Linked DNA regions of Homo sapiens: region 1 is linked to region 2. Evidence: promoter capture Hi-C in human tissues and cell types (Jung and others, 2019). All regions are on one chromosome and are shown on one strand. Each heading gives the region's core, a stretch centred on a gene start or on the middle of the fragment in contact. The rest is flanking DNA. Distances are from core to core; before and after follow the strand shown. Region 1 has its middle 26 kb from the start of OOSP4B. Region 2 holds the start of OOSP1 (oocyte secreted protein 1).

What was found. The method cuts DNA at HindIII sites, captures the fragments that hold promoters and counts their contacts. A contact is called where the count stands out against the background at its distance.
Region 1: a fragment that was not itself captured here is called in contact with the fragment with the promoter of OOSP1 in region 2 in 1 of the 25 tissues and cell types used here (hippocampus).

What each region holds. Positions count from the first base shown.
Region 1 is chr11:59,988,406-59,994,761 of GRCh38, forward strand. No RefSeq gene overlaps it. Among named protein-coding and RNA genes, the nearest start is that of OOSP4B, 26 kb to the right of the region's middle. The HindIII fragment of the contact is 5,564 bases long and covers 197-5,760 here.
Region 2 is chr11:59,934,349-59,940,983 of GRCh38, forward strand. OOSP1 (oocyte secreted protein 1) reads left to right here and starts at 4,084. Exons shown (of 5, transcript NM_001395276.1): 1 at 4,084-4,182. The coding sequence starts at 4,107. The HindIII fragment of the contact is 12,909 bases long and covers 1-6,635 here.

The sequences.
Region 1 (6,356 bases), core at 1,729-4,228, 53 kb after region 2:
GTAAGTCTAGCTGGCTACAGAGATTAAGGTTCTCTAACATTTGCTTGGTTGCCAGGTGTTTCCGATGAGACTAAAGATGTTAGAAAATATGCTGAGGTCCAGCCCTTAGACCTGTCTGACTGATGGACAGTGTTCTGTTCTTTTATATGAGTAGATATGTCATATAATATATGAATGTTTATATATAAAGCTGACTGTCTCAATGTATTTTATTAATAAAATGAACCTATTTGTTTCTCTGGTAGCTGACACTATTGTGGTTTTTAAAAAAATTTTAAATGTTTAATTCTTGTGGGTACATAGTAGGTGTATATATTTATGTGGTACATGAGATGTTTTGATACAGTCATGCATTGCATAATAATCACATGGAGAATGGGGGTATCCATCCCCTCAAGCATTTATCCTTTGTGTCACAATCTAATTAGTCTCCTTTGGTTATTTTTAAATCCACAATTAAGTTATTATTGACTACAGTCACTGTGTTGTGCTATCAAATTGTAGATCTTATTCATTTTTTTTCTATTTTTTTGGTATGCATTAACCAACCACCCCTCCTCCCTCTCTCAACCTACCACTACATTTTCTGGTCTTTGATAGCCATTCTTCTACTCTCTATGTCCATCGGTTCAATTGTTTTGATTTTTAGATCCTACAAATAAGTGAGAACATGCAATGTTTGTCTTTCTCTGCCTGGCTCATTTCACTTAATGACCTCCAGTTCCATCCATGTTGTTGCACATGGTAGGATCTTATTCTTTTTTTATGGCTGAATAGTACTCCATTGTGTATATGTACCACATTGCCTTTATCCATCCATCTGGATAAAGTGGACACTTAAGTTGCTTCCAAATCTTAACTATTGTGAACAATGCTGCAACAAACATGGGAGTGTATATCTCTTCAACATACTGATTTCTTTTGAGTATATACTGAGCAGTGGGATTGCTGGATCACATGGTAGCTCTATTTTTAGTTCTTTAGGGAACTTCCAAACTGTCCCCCATAGTGGTTGTACTAACTTATATTCTCACCAACAGGGTATGAGGGTTCTCTTTTCTCCACATTCTCACCAGCATTTGTTATTGCTTGTCTTTGGCAAGTACAAGCTATTTTAACTCGGGCGAGATGATATCTCATTGTATTTTTTATTTACATTTCTCTGATCTATTTCCATATGCCTGTCTGCCATTTGTATGTCATCTTTTGAGAAATGTTTATTCAAACCTTTTACCCACTTTTTCTTTTATCAGATTATTAGATTTTTTTGCCTATAAAGTTGTTTGAGTTCTTTATACATTCTGGTGATTAACCCCTCATCAGATGGGTAGTTTGTAAATACTTTCTCTCAGTCTTCGGGTTGTCTCTTTCCTTTGTTGATTGGATCCTTTGCTGTGCAGAAGCTTTGTAACTTGATGTGATCACATTTGTACAATTTTGCTTTGGTTGCCTATGCTTATAGGGCATTGCTCAAGAAATTTCTGCCCAGACCAATGCCCTGGAGATTTTCCCCAATGTTTTCTTTTAGTTTCATAGTTTGATGTTTTAGATTTAAATTTTTAATCCATTTTGATTTGATTTTTTGTATATGGCAAGAGATAGGGATCTAGTTTAATTCTTCTGCATATGGATATCCAGTTTCCCAGCACTATTTATGAAAGAGACTGTCTTTTCCCCAGTGTACATTATTGGCACAATTGTTGAAAATGAGTTCACTATAGGTGTGTGGATTTGTTTCTGGGTGCTCTATTCTGTTCCATTGATTTTTGTGTCTGTTTTTATGTCACTACCATGCTGTTTTGGTTACTATAGCTCTGTAGTATAATTTGAAGTTAGGTAATGTGATTCCTCCACTTTTGTTCTTTTTTGCTTAGGATAGCTTTGGCTATTCTGGGTCTTTTGTGGTTCTATATAAATGTTAGGATTGTTTTTCCTATTTCTGTGAAGAATGTAATTGGAATTTGGTACGGATTGCAATGAATCTGTAGATTGCTTTAGGTACTATTGATATGTTAACAGCATTGATTCTTCCAATCCATGAAAATGGAATATTTTTCCATTTTTGGGGGGTGTCCTCTTTAATTTCTTTCTCTAGTGTTTTATAATTTTCATTATAGAGATCTTTCACTTCTTTGGTTAATTCCTACATATTTAATTTTGTGTATGGCTATTGTAAATGGGATTACTTTTTAATTTATTTTTCACATTGTTTATTGCTGACATATAGAAATGCTACTGATTTAAAATTTTTTTAATTTTTAATTTTTTAATTTCAATAGGTTTTGGGAGAACAGGTGGTGTTTGGTTACATGAATAAATTCTTCAGTGATGATTTCTGAGACTTTGGTGCATCCATCACCCGAGCAGTGTACACTGTACCCAATGTGTAGTGTTTTATTCCTCACCACCCCCCACCCTTCCCCCGAGTCCTCAAAGTCCAATGTATCATTCTTATGCCTTTGCATCCTCATAGCTTAGCTCCCACATATGAATGAGAACATATGATGTTTGGTTTTTCATTCATGATTTACTTTACTTAGAATAATAGTCTTTGATTCCATTCTGGTTGCTGTGAATGCCATTATTTAATTCCTTTTTATGGCTGAGTAGTATTCCATGGCATGTATATACCACATTTTCTTTATCTCCTCGTTGATTGATGGGCATTTTGGGTTGGTTCCATATTTTTGCAATTGCAAATCATGCTGCTATAAACATGAATGTGCGAGTATCTTTTTTGTATTATGACTTTTTCTCTGGGTAGATACCTAGTAGTGGGATTGCTGAATCAAGCAGTAGATCTACTTTTACTTCTTTAAGGAATCTTCACACTATTTTTCATAGCAGTTGTACTAGTTTACATTCCCACCAACAGTGTAAACATGTTCCCTTTTTACACCATCCATGCCAACATCTATTTTTTTTGATTTTTTTGATTATGGCCATTCTTACAGAAGTGAGGTGGTATCGCATTGTGGTTTCGATCTGCATTTCTCTCATCATTGTGATGTTGAGCACTTTCCATATGCTTGTCAGTCATTTGCATATCTTCTTTTGAGAATTGTCTATTCATGTCCTTAGCCCACTTTTTGATGGGATTGTTTTTTTTCTTGCTGATTTGTTTGAGTTCCTTATAGATTCTGGATATTGGTCCTTTGTCAGATATATAGTTTGTGAAGATTTTCTCCCACTCCGGGTTGTCTGTTTACTCTGCTGATTATTTCTTTTGCTCTGCAGAAGCTTTTTAGTTTAATTAAGTCCTATCTATTTACCTTTGTTTTTGTTGTTTTTGCTTTTGGGCTCTTGGTCTTGAAGTCTTTGCCTGAGCCAATGTCTAGAAGGTTTTTTCTGATGTTATCTTCTAGAATATTTATAGTTTTTAGGTCTTAAATTTAAGGCTTTGATCTATCTTGAGTTGATTTTTGTATAAGGTGAGAGAAGAGGATCCAGTTTCATTTCTTCTACCTGTGGCTTGCTAAGTATACCAGCACCATTTATTGAATAGGGTGTCTTTTCCCCACTTTATATTTTTGTTTGTTTTGTTGAAGATCAGTTGGTGATAAGTTTTTGGCTTTATTTCTGGGTTCTTTATTCTGTTCCATTGGCTTATGTGCCTATTTTTATACCAGGACCATACTGTTTTGGTGACTATGGCCTTATAGTATAGTGTGAAGTTGGATAATGTGATGCTTCCAGATTTGTTCTTTTCACTTAGTCTTGCTTTGGCTATGCAAGCCTTTTTGTTTCCATATGAATTTTAGGATTGTTTTTTCTTGTTTTGTGAAGAAGGATGCTAGTGTTTTTATGGGAATTGCATTGAATTTGAAGATTGTTTTTGGCACTATGGTCATTTTCACAATATTGATTCTGCCCATCCATGAGGATGGGATGTGTTTTCCATCCCACTGGAAGCACTTGTTTGTGTTATCTATGATTTATTTCAGCAGTGTTTTGTAGTTTTCCTTGTAGAGGTCTTTCATGTCCTTGGCTAGGTATGTTCCTAAGTATTTTATTTTTTTTGAATCTATTGTGAAAGGGGTTGAGTTCCTGATTTCTCAGTTTGGTCGCTGTTAGTGTATAGCAGAGCTACTGATTTGTGTACATTAATTTTGTATCCTGAAACTTTGCTAAACTCGTTTACCAGTTCTAGAAGTTTTTTGGATGGCCGTTTAGGGTTTTCTAGGTTATACGATTATATCATCAGCAAACAGTCACAGTTTGACTTCCTCTTTACCGATCTGGATGCCATTTATTTCTTTCTCTTGTCTGATTGCTGTGGCTAGGACTTCCTGTACTATGTTGAATAGAAGTGGTGAAAGAGGTCATCCTTGTAGTGTTCTAGTTCTCAGGGGGAATGCTTTGCAACTTTTCCCTGTTCAGTATAATGTGGGCTGTGAGTTTGTCATAAATGGCTTTTATTACCTTAAGGTGTGTTCCTTCTATACTGATTTTGCTGAGGGTTTTAATTATAAAAGGATGCTGGATTTTGTCAAATCCTTCTTCTACACTGATTAGATGATCATGTGACTTTTGCTTCTAATTCTGTTTGTGTGGTGTACTATATTTATTGACTTGCATATGTTAAACAATCTCTGAATCCCTGGTATAAAACCCACTTGATCATGGTGAATTACCTTTTTGATATGCTGTTGGATTCAGTTTGCTAGTATTTTGTTGAGGATTTTTGCATCTATATTCCTCAGGGATATTGGCCTGTAGTTTTCTTTTTTTGTTATATCCTTTCCTGGTTTTGATATTAAGGTGATACTGGCTTCATAGAATGAGTTAAGGAGGATTCCCTCTTTCTCTATCTTGTGGAATATTGTCAATAGAATTGGTACCAATTTTTCTTTGAAAGCCTGATAGAATTCAGCTGTGAATCTCTCTGGTCCTGGACTTTTTTTTCTCAAGCAGGAGTTTTGCCCCATAGCCACCACAGCTTTATCCGTAATGTGGTAAGTCCCACCTGAAGTCAGCAAGTCTCAGAGGCTCCCCCCAGGCCCTTGATGTAGTACCTGCTTATCACTGCTGATAATTCAGGGCCCAAGGGCTTCTCAGTTAGCAGGTGATAAATGTTGCCAGGACTGCATCCTTCCCTTCAAAGCAGTGGGTTCCCTTCTGGCCAAGGGTGTGTCTAGAAATGTCTGGAAGCTAGGACCTGGAATTGGGGGACTAACAACTCTGACCAATGCCCTCTCCTGCTGTGGTTGAACTGGTATTCAAGATGAAGACAAAGTCCTCCCCACTCTCCTTTCTCCTCTCCTCAAGCAGAAGAAAGAGCTCTCTTTTGGAGCCACAAGCTATGCAACCTGGGTTTAGGGGTTGGGTAATGCCAGCACTTCCTTAGCTGCATGGCTTGTATCTTAGTAGGTCATGTGTTCCCCCAGTTCACTGTCTCTGGGACCAGTTCAGCACTAGGACTCATCTAAGAGTTTCAGTCCTTATGGCCTAGACTGCCTTTCAAGTTTACTTAGAGACTCAGAACACTTTAGCCCTCTGTGGTGAGGTTCGCGGGAACTCAAGTTCCGACTGCTGGGATTGGTGATTCCCTTCTGGCTAGGGATAGTTTAAACATTCTCTCTGTGGATGGGCATCAGCTGAATTTGGCCTGATTTTTCTTTCTTCTCTAACAAGATTTTGTTAGTGAACTTTCCTTTTCCCGGGCATTCTTTGTTTGTACCTACCACTTCCAACCTGCCCAGTCCCAAGGCTATCATAGGAACTATTGATTTCTTCTGTGAACATACCACCACTCTGCAGTTGTTGGTCCCAGGGATAAGAATGGCCCAAGAGATTCAAAGTGATTTTTTCTTCCAAAATGTTCAAACTAAAACAGAGTCAGTTTCTGATTTACCCAGAGTTATAACAATGAAGACTTGCTAATGACCACCATTTTCTCCTCGTTTTTAAGAACACTTCTGCAATGAGAGAATAATGTAGAAGAGCCTATAGATGCAGAGGTCAGGTAACTTGGCCCATTCTTGGCTCAGTTATTTATGTGGCCCAATTACGTATCTGTTGGAATTTTAAATATAGTCTACTTTTGAATAATCGGAGCTATATAAAAGCATAAGTAAATGATTATATTTCTTTTTCAATAACTCAGATCAGCTCTGTTCTGTAAAGTCTTCCCTTCCCATACCATTACAACATCTTTTGCCTTTTTCTCCTATGATAAATTAAGCTCAATGAAAACCTCAATTTCATATCAAATTTAATGTTCCCCTCCTTTACTACTGCCTGCCCTGGGTACAAATGATTGGACAAAAAGAAGGCTCAACCTACTCTATAAATACTTTATCTTCTGCTTTCTTTACTGCCTTGGTGTGTTAAGGTAGAGAAAAAGGATAAAAAGA
Region 2 (6,635 bases), core at 2,834-5,333:
TTTTCTTGCTAAATAGTATCCCATGGTATAGATTACTATGGTTCGTTTAGCCATTCATTTAAAAAAAGGGCATCTAGATTGTTTCCAGTATTTTGCGACTATGAATACAACTGCTAGGAATATTGGTGTACAGGCTTTTGTGTGAAAATAAATTTTCATTTATTTGAGACATGCCCCTGACATATCATTTGCTTAATAGATATCTTTGAATAATCGAATTGATAAATTGTGAGAAGAGAATAGAAAACAAAGTGTACCACATTTAGTTATTTTCATTAATATTCTAAAATACCTGTTTGTGAGAATTTACTGTTCCATTAAAGAGGTCATTAATAGGTCACATTTCTCTATAAAAACACTAATCTTATCAGCACAGTTTGTATTCTCTGTGCTGAAGATCCCCCAGAGGCACTGCAGTGAACACACAGGGATACCAGGGGATATTTTAAAAATTTCGGGGAGACAGTGAGTGATACTTGACAACTGTCAGACATGATGCAAATTACCAGCTCAAGGTAGTCCACAGTTCCACTTTGGTGGCACTACATTCTTTTCTATTAGTCCACAACTTTGTGCAACTTGGGATCTAGTGGTTGCTGTGATGAATAGCCAAAGCAGTTACTGTGGGAAAAATCCATGTGGAATAAGGAATGAAGATGGTGATGCCCAATCTGATTTCAAGAGCTGAGATGCTGTGCAGCGTCAAACAGTTATACACATATTATTCATAATTGTGGTTAAAGAATAAAATAAAAATATTTTCTTCCAATGTATGTGTTTTCAAATGGCTACTAAGTTGTCAGCACAAAAATACTGAAGTTATTTTGATGTAACAACATAATAAATGAAGCTGTTATGTATTTCTTTTCATGAAAGGATGCCATAAAAAGCAAACAAACAACAAAAGTTACTGTATCATTAAGAGAACTAGGTGAATGTTTGGGACCCTCTGCTATAACTAGTCACATATCCTAAAAATTTTCTAAGGGAAATAATTCTTTTTGTAAAAAAAAGAAAATTTGGCAAGATAGAAGTGTAATTCTCTAAACCCAAGGCAAGAAAAGAGAATGCAGATGCGTATAGGAGAATTACTCAGTATCTTCAGCCTCTGAAAGGGAAGGCTGGTTGAGCCCCGGTCCAGAGATTTATTGAGAGTGAGACTGAAGTATCCTGTTTCTCTTAGTCAGGGAGACACTTCTGTAGGCCAGACCATTGGACACCTTAGCTAGTGAGAGGATTCTTTCTTATTTTTTTCTGTCTGAATACATGTGTAAATGGGGACATAACTGCCATATTTTAGTGTTGCTAGCCATTTAGCTGAGAGTTAATTTGAATTAGTTAGGTGTCTGGGGATCCCACTGGATAGAGACAAACAAATGACACAGTTAATAGTGAATTACCAGCCCTGTACTGGTCATACTCCAGTCGAAGTAAAATGCTCAATGTGTATTTAGCCTGCTTCTATTAATTATTATATTAAATAGGTGTAAGCGAGTCTGTTGTAATTATGACTCAGATTCCAGAAGGAATAAGTAAAATGTGACCAAATAGAATCTGAAGCAAAAATTAAACAAACTTTGAGGCAAAAATACCACAAGCAAAATCAAAAGACAAATGACTGCCTAGGAGGAAAATATTTGCATCTTATATCGCGGATAAAAGGATAATCTCCCTAATATATAAAGAGCTCTAAAACAACGGAAAAGCTATAGAAATGTTCTTAAGATTATAACATTTTTAACTTCATTTATTCTTGCCAAAAAGGTTCGAGTCTAATTGTGAGGAAATAATCAGATTCTGAATGAGAGTCTTTACTCAAGATAGCTAGCCAAGACTCTTCTGAAAAGACATTTCCATACAAAACAAAAGTCATGAGGTACAACTCAATAAGATGAGAAATAACTCAATAAAAATGAATAAAATATTTGAATAGATACTTCCTTAAAAGGATATACACATGGCAGTCTGGGCTTGGTGGCTCAAGCCTATAATCTTAGCACTTTGGGAGGCTGAGGCAGGCAGATCACCTGAGGTCAGGAGTTTGAGACCATTCTGGCCAACATGGCAAAACCCTGTCTCTATGAAGAGACCCTGTCACCTCTTCAATGCTTCCATCCTCACCTTGAAAGTATTGCTCTTCCAGTGATTTAACCAGGTAATTTTTAAGATTCAAGCCACCTATTCTTTACTAGTTTATTGACGATTTGATAACAATAGTAGTTTCGCAGATTGTCAGATACACGAGGCTAAGACTGGGTGGCTGAAAGTCAGAGACATTGCCTTGTGCATCCTTAGGTACCTGTGGACAAGGTTTTGACATTCATTTGGACTGAACCTTAGCACTGTCCATCTAGATAGCAATGTATCTGAAATGTTTTAATATACCTTTAATCTCAATACACATTAAATTAAAAAAGCATAATTATTAAAATTAAAATATATTTGTGTCTTTAACACAAGTGAAATGTAAACATTTCAAAAACTTAAAAAGAGGCCATGCTCAGTGGCTCACACCAGTAATCCCAGCATTTTGGGAGGGCGAGGCAGGCAGACCACTTGAGGTCAGGAGTTCGAGACCAGCCTGGCCAACTTGGCGAAACCACATCTCTACTAAAAACACAGAAATTAGCTGGCCATAGTGGCGGGCGCCTGTAATCCTAGCTGCTTGGGAGTCTAAGCAGGAGAATCGCTAGAACCCAGGAGGCAGAGAGTGCGGGGAGCGGAGATCGTGCCATTGCATTCTAGCCTGGGTGACAAGAGCTAAACTCCATCTCAAAAAAACAAAAACAAAACAAAAACAAACAAAAATTTTTAAAAGGAACAAATGCTAACTAATTCTATTTTTTTTCTTTCTCCTGCCATCTTTTATTGGGCACCCATTTTGTGAAAGTTAGGACACACAAAAATACAGAGGAATGATCTCAACCTTTGAAGAGCTCATCATTTAATGGCATTTTAGAACTTTTAGAACAGACTAAATTTAATGATAAAATTCAGATAATATCAAGGATAGTTAAATGCATTTATATAGTCTTTTCTATTTGTTTTTGGTAAGCTCCTACTTTCCACGTTCTATTAACGTAGGACACAGTTGCTAAACTCTAATAACTGGTTATTAGCGAAAAAAATCAGAATATATTTGAACCAAACATTCATTTAGGCTTGTTTTGGTAATGAGATTTTGAATTTCTCATTTTTAAGTTGGCATCTTCTGTTTTGAAGAAAGGAATCTAAATGTGAGTAACCATTTACAGGCATTGCTACTCACAACGTAGTCTCCAGAGCAACATCCCTGCAATCTTAAAATGCAGAATCTTAGCCTTCACCCCAGACATTCCGAATTAGAATCTGCATTGTAAAGAGAGCCTCAAGTGATGTATATGCTCCTTAAAGTTTGAGAAGCAAACATCGCTGCTAATGGGCATCAACACAGCATGCACTCTGAAGGCAAAACCCTGTAGACCAGGGATTCTCAAAGTGTGGTCCCTGGGTGGTCAGTATGAGCATCGCCTGGGAACTTGTGAGAAACATCAATTCTCAGGTCCCAGCCCAGTCTTAGTGAATCAGAAAACTAAATGACACTCAGCTGTGCTTCAATAAGCTCTCCCGGTGATTCTGATATCTATTAAGTTTGAGTACCACTGTTTAGTTGGTGAAAACAGGTGAAAGTAGATGAAATCTTTCAATTCCCATGTTCTCAGGGCTTGGCCTTCTGAGATGCACAGAACAAGTAAATTATCATCCAGTTATTTCTTTCGTGTTCAGATGTGGAGACAGATGTTATAGGATATTAGGAAGTTTTAATAAAGTAAACCTTAGTGCATAAAAATAACTATATCTGATGCTTTGGACTCTAAAACAAGTGAAGCCTTCTGTTGTACTTCTATTGCACATTTTGCTTTATCTTTGCTCTTGTTTTTTGACATTTGAGTAAAAAGTGTAACATCTTAGAAAATGAAACAAAATTATATTTATGGCACGTGTGTGCTGTCCAAAGTTGTAATTAATTACCCACACCTATGTGTGGCTTCAGGCATTTTGGCATATAAGGCTATTCTCCCCAACTTCCTGTTTCCTGAGTGAGGTTTGGTTTTCAATCTGGGCAAATGAAGACCATTCTGGGGTTCAAAGGGCTCTTTTATCTGCATTCCTTGATATGGACCTGCGCTGGGGACTGGTCAGGTATAACTTATCACTTGGGGAATAGAAGTTTCTTAAAGAGAGCTGAAAGATGTGGCTTTGGATTCTTTACAGTTGTGGTCTGGTTGAATCTTAATAATAGCCAAGGACACATGGAGGGGTGGTGCCTCTTTTCGATGTGCAATCTTGAGATACCATGTTTTTCTCTTGCATACCGGCACTGAGACTAGGGAATGTGCCCTAACCTGAGACTGTCTTTCTCCAACTCCCCTTTCCTTTTGATCTTATTCTGACCATATCAATTCTTGGGGATCAAGTACTTGAAGTGGGTTTAATATAAAGAGTGTGGAGTGGCCTGGAAAACAGAGGAGTGGGTGGTGGTAGGAACTTGGGACTCTGTGGTGTGTCACATACAGGAAGAAAGCCTTATAAGGCTTAGCCTTTCTTTACCTTATACTTCATAGATCCTTTTCATTTCAGAGGGAGCAGTCAGTGCCCCCTAAGTGAGGTGAGCAGTGGTCCAGGTTTTCCCAGTACTTTTCCTGCGTCGGCCCCAAAAACCTCCTGTTCGGAGCAAACCAGAATGATTGGTAGCCCTGAGTATAAACTTGGGCTGTCAGTTTCTCTTCCTCTATTTCTGCTTCTCTTTCTCTTTTCCTTTCTTTCTCTCCTCCCTTCTTTCTTCCTTTCTTTCTCTTTCTCCCTCGTTCCCTCCTCCCTCCCTCTTTCTTTTCTTTCCCTTCCTTCCTCCTTTCCTTCTTTTCTTCCTTTCTTTTTTTTTTGGGACAAGAGTCTCGCTGTCACCGAGGCTGGAGTGCAGTGGTATGATCTGGGCTCACTACAGCCTCTGCCTCCCGGGTTCATGTGATTCTTGTGCCTCAGCCTCCCAAGTAGCTGGCACTGCAGATGTGCACCACCACATCCAGCTAATTTTTGTATTTTTAGTAGAGACGGGGTTTTACCATATTGGCCAGGCTGGTCTCAAACTCCTGGCCTCAAGTGATCTGCCCACCTCGGTCTCCCAAAGTGCTGGTATAACAGGTATGAGCCACTGTGCTGAATGCTTTTTTCTGTTTTCTTTTCTTTCTCTCCTTCTCTCTTTTTCTTTTTTTTCTTCCCTTTCTCTTCCTCTTCCCTTTCTATTACTCTTCCCTTTCTCTTCCTCTTCTTTCTCTTCCTCTTCTCTTCCTGTTCCCTCTTCCTCGTCCCTTGCTCTTCCCTTCCTCTTTCTCTTTCTCTTCTTTTTCTCTTTTTTCTTTTTCTCTTCTTTCCCCTTCTCTTTCTCATCTTTCTCTTTCTTTTCTTTTTCTCTTTCTCTTCTCTTTCTCTTCTTTCTCTTTCTTTTGTTTTCTTTCTTTCTTTGTCACTCAGGCTGGAGTGCAGTGGTGCCATCGTAGCTCACTGCAGCTGTGAACTGCTAATTAAAAAAAAATTTTTTGTAGAGACTTGCTATGTTGCCCAGGCTAGTCTCCAACTCTTGACCTCAAGGAATCCTCCCACCTTGGCTTCCCAAAGCTTTAGGATTAAAGGCGTGAGCCACTGCTTCCTGCCTGGGCTGTCAATTTCTAAGGTTAAGATTTCGGAATTGCAGTGAAAGGTTGTGTATACTTGTCAAGCTACCCGTTCAACAAGACAACCTAGACCTGACATGGGTACATGTTAGAATCTTAGTGTATTCATTATGCTTTCTTTTATTAGGAACTATTTAAAATGGATAACTAAGTTTAAAAAAGCAGGTAACTATAAGGAATAATATCAATATTCACTGACCTGCTCTTCAGCTTTATTAAATCCATAATTTGCTACATTTGCTTACATTTTATTTTCTAATAGAAGTAAAAGTTCAGGTAGAGTTGAAGTCCCTGTGGTCATTCCTGATCCTATTCTCTTCCCTCTTTGCCCATATGTGAGTTTGGTAATTATTCATTTTCCTGTGTGTTTTACAATTTTACGTCAAATTTGTGGATCTGTAAATATGTTTCGCAGGCATTTATCTTCTATTTCTATTTAATTCTACAGCTTTTTTGTTGTCCATCACTTGGAGATTTACATTTGTAGCTTTGGTATATTTTAATTACTATTTAGCAGTCCAGTGAATAAATGCATTGCAAATTGTTTCTGTTCTCACATTGATAGAATTTTTCTAGTGTGGGGCCGTTACAAATAATGTTTGTATTTGAGTGGTTTCTTTTTGTGTGTGCATATCTAGGAATGGGACTGTGAGGCCACAGGTACAGATCTGAAAAGTAACTCTCTTGCTCAATTGTTCTTTAATTCTAATTGGTGCTCACAGATGTCTTACTTTTTGCTAATGTGGATATGAATAACTGGTTTTACATTTAAGGAACGTCTTATTTTTAGGTAATTGTAGATTCACATGCAGTGTAAGAAATAATACAGAGATCAATTATACTATTTATTCAGCTTCACACAATGGTAACATCTTGCAGAAATATAATACAGTATTACATTGGGATATTAATATTGATGTAGCC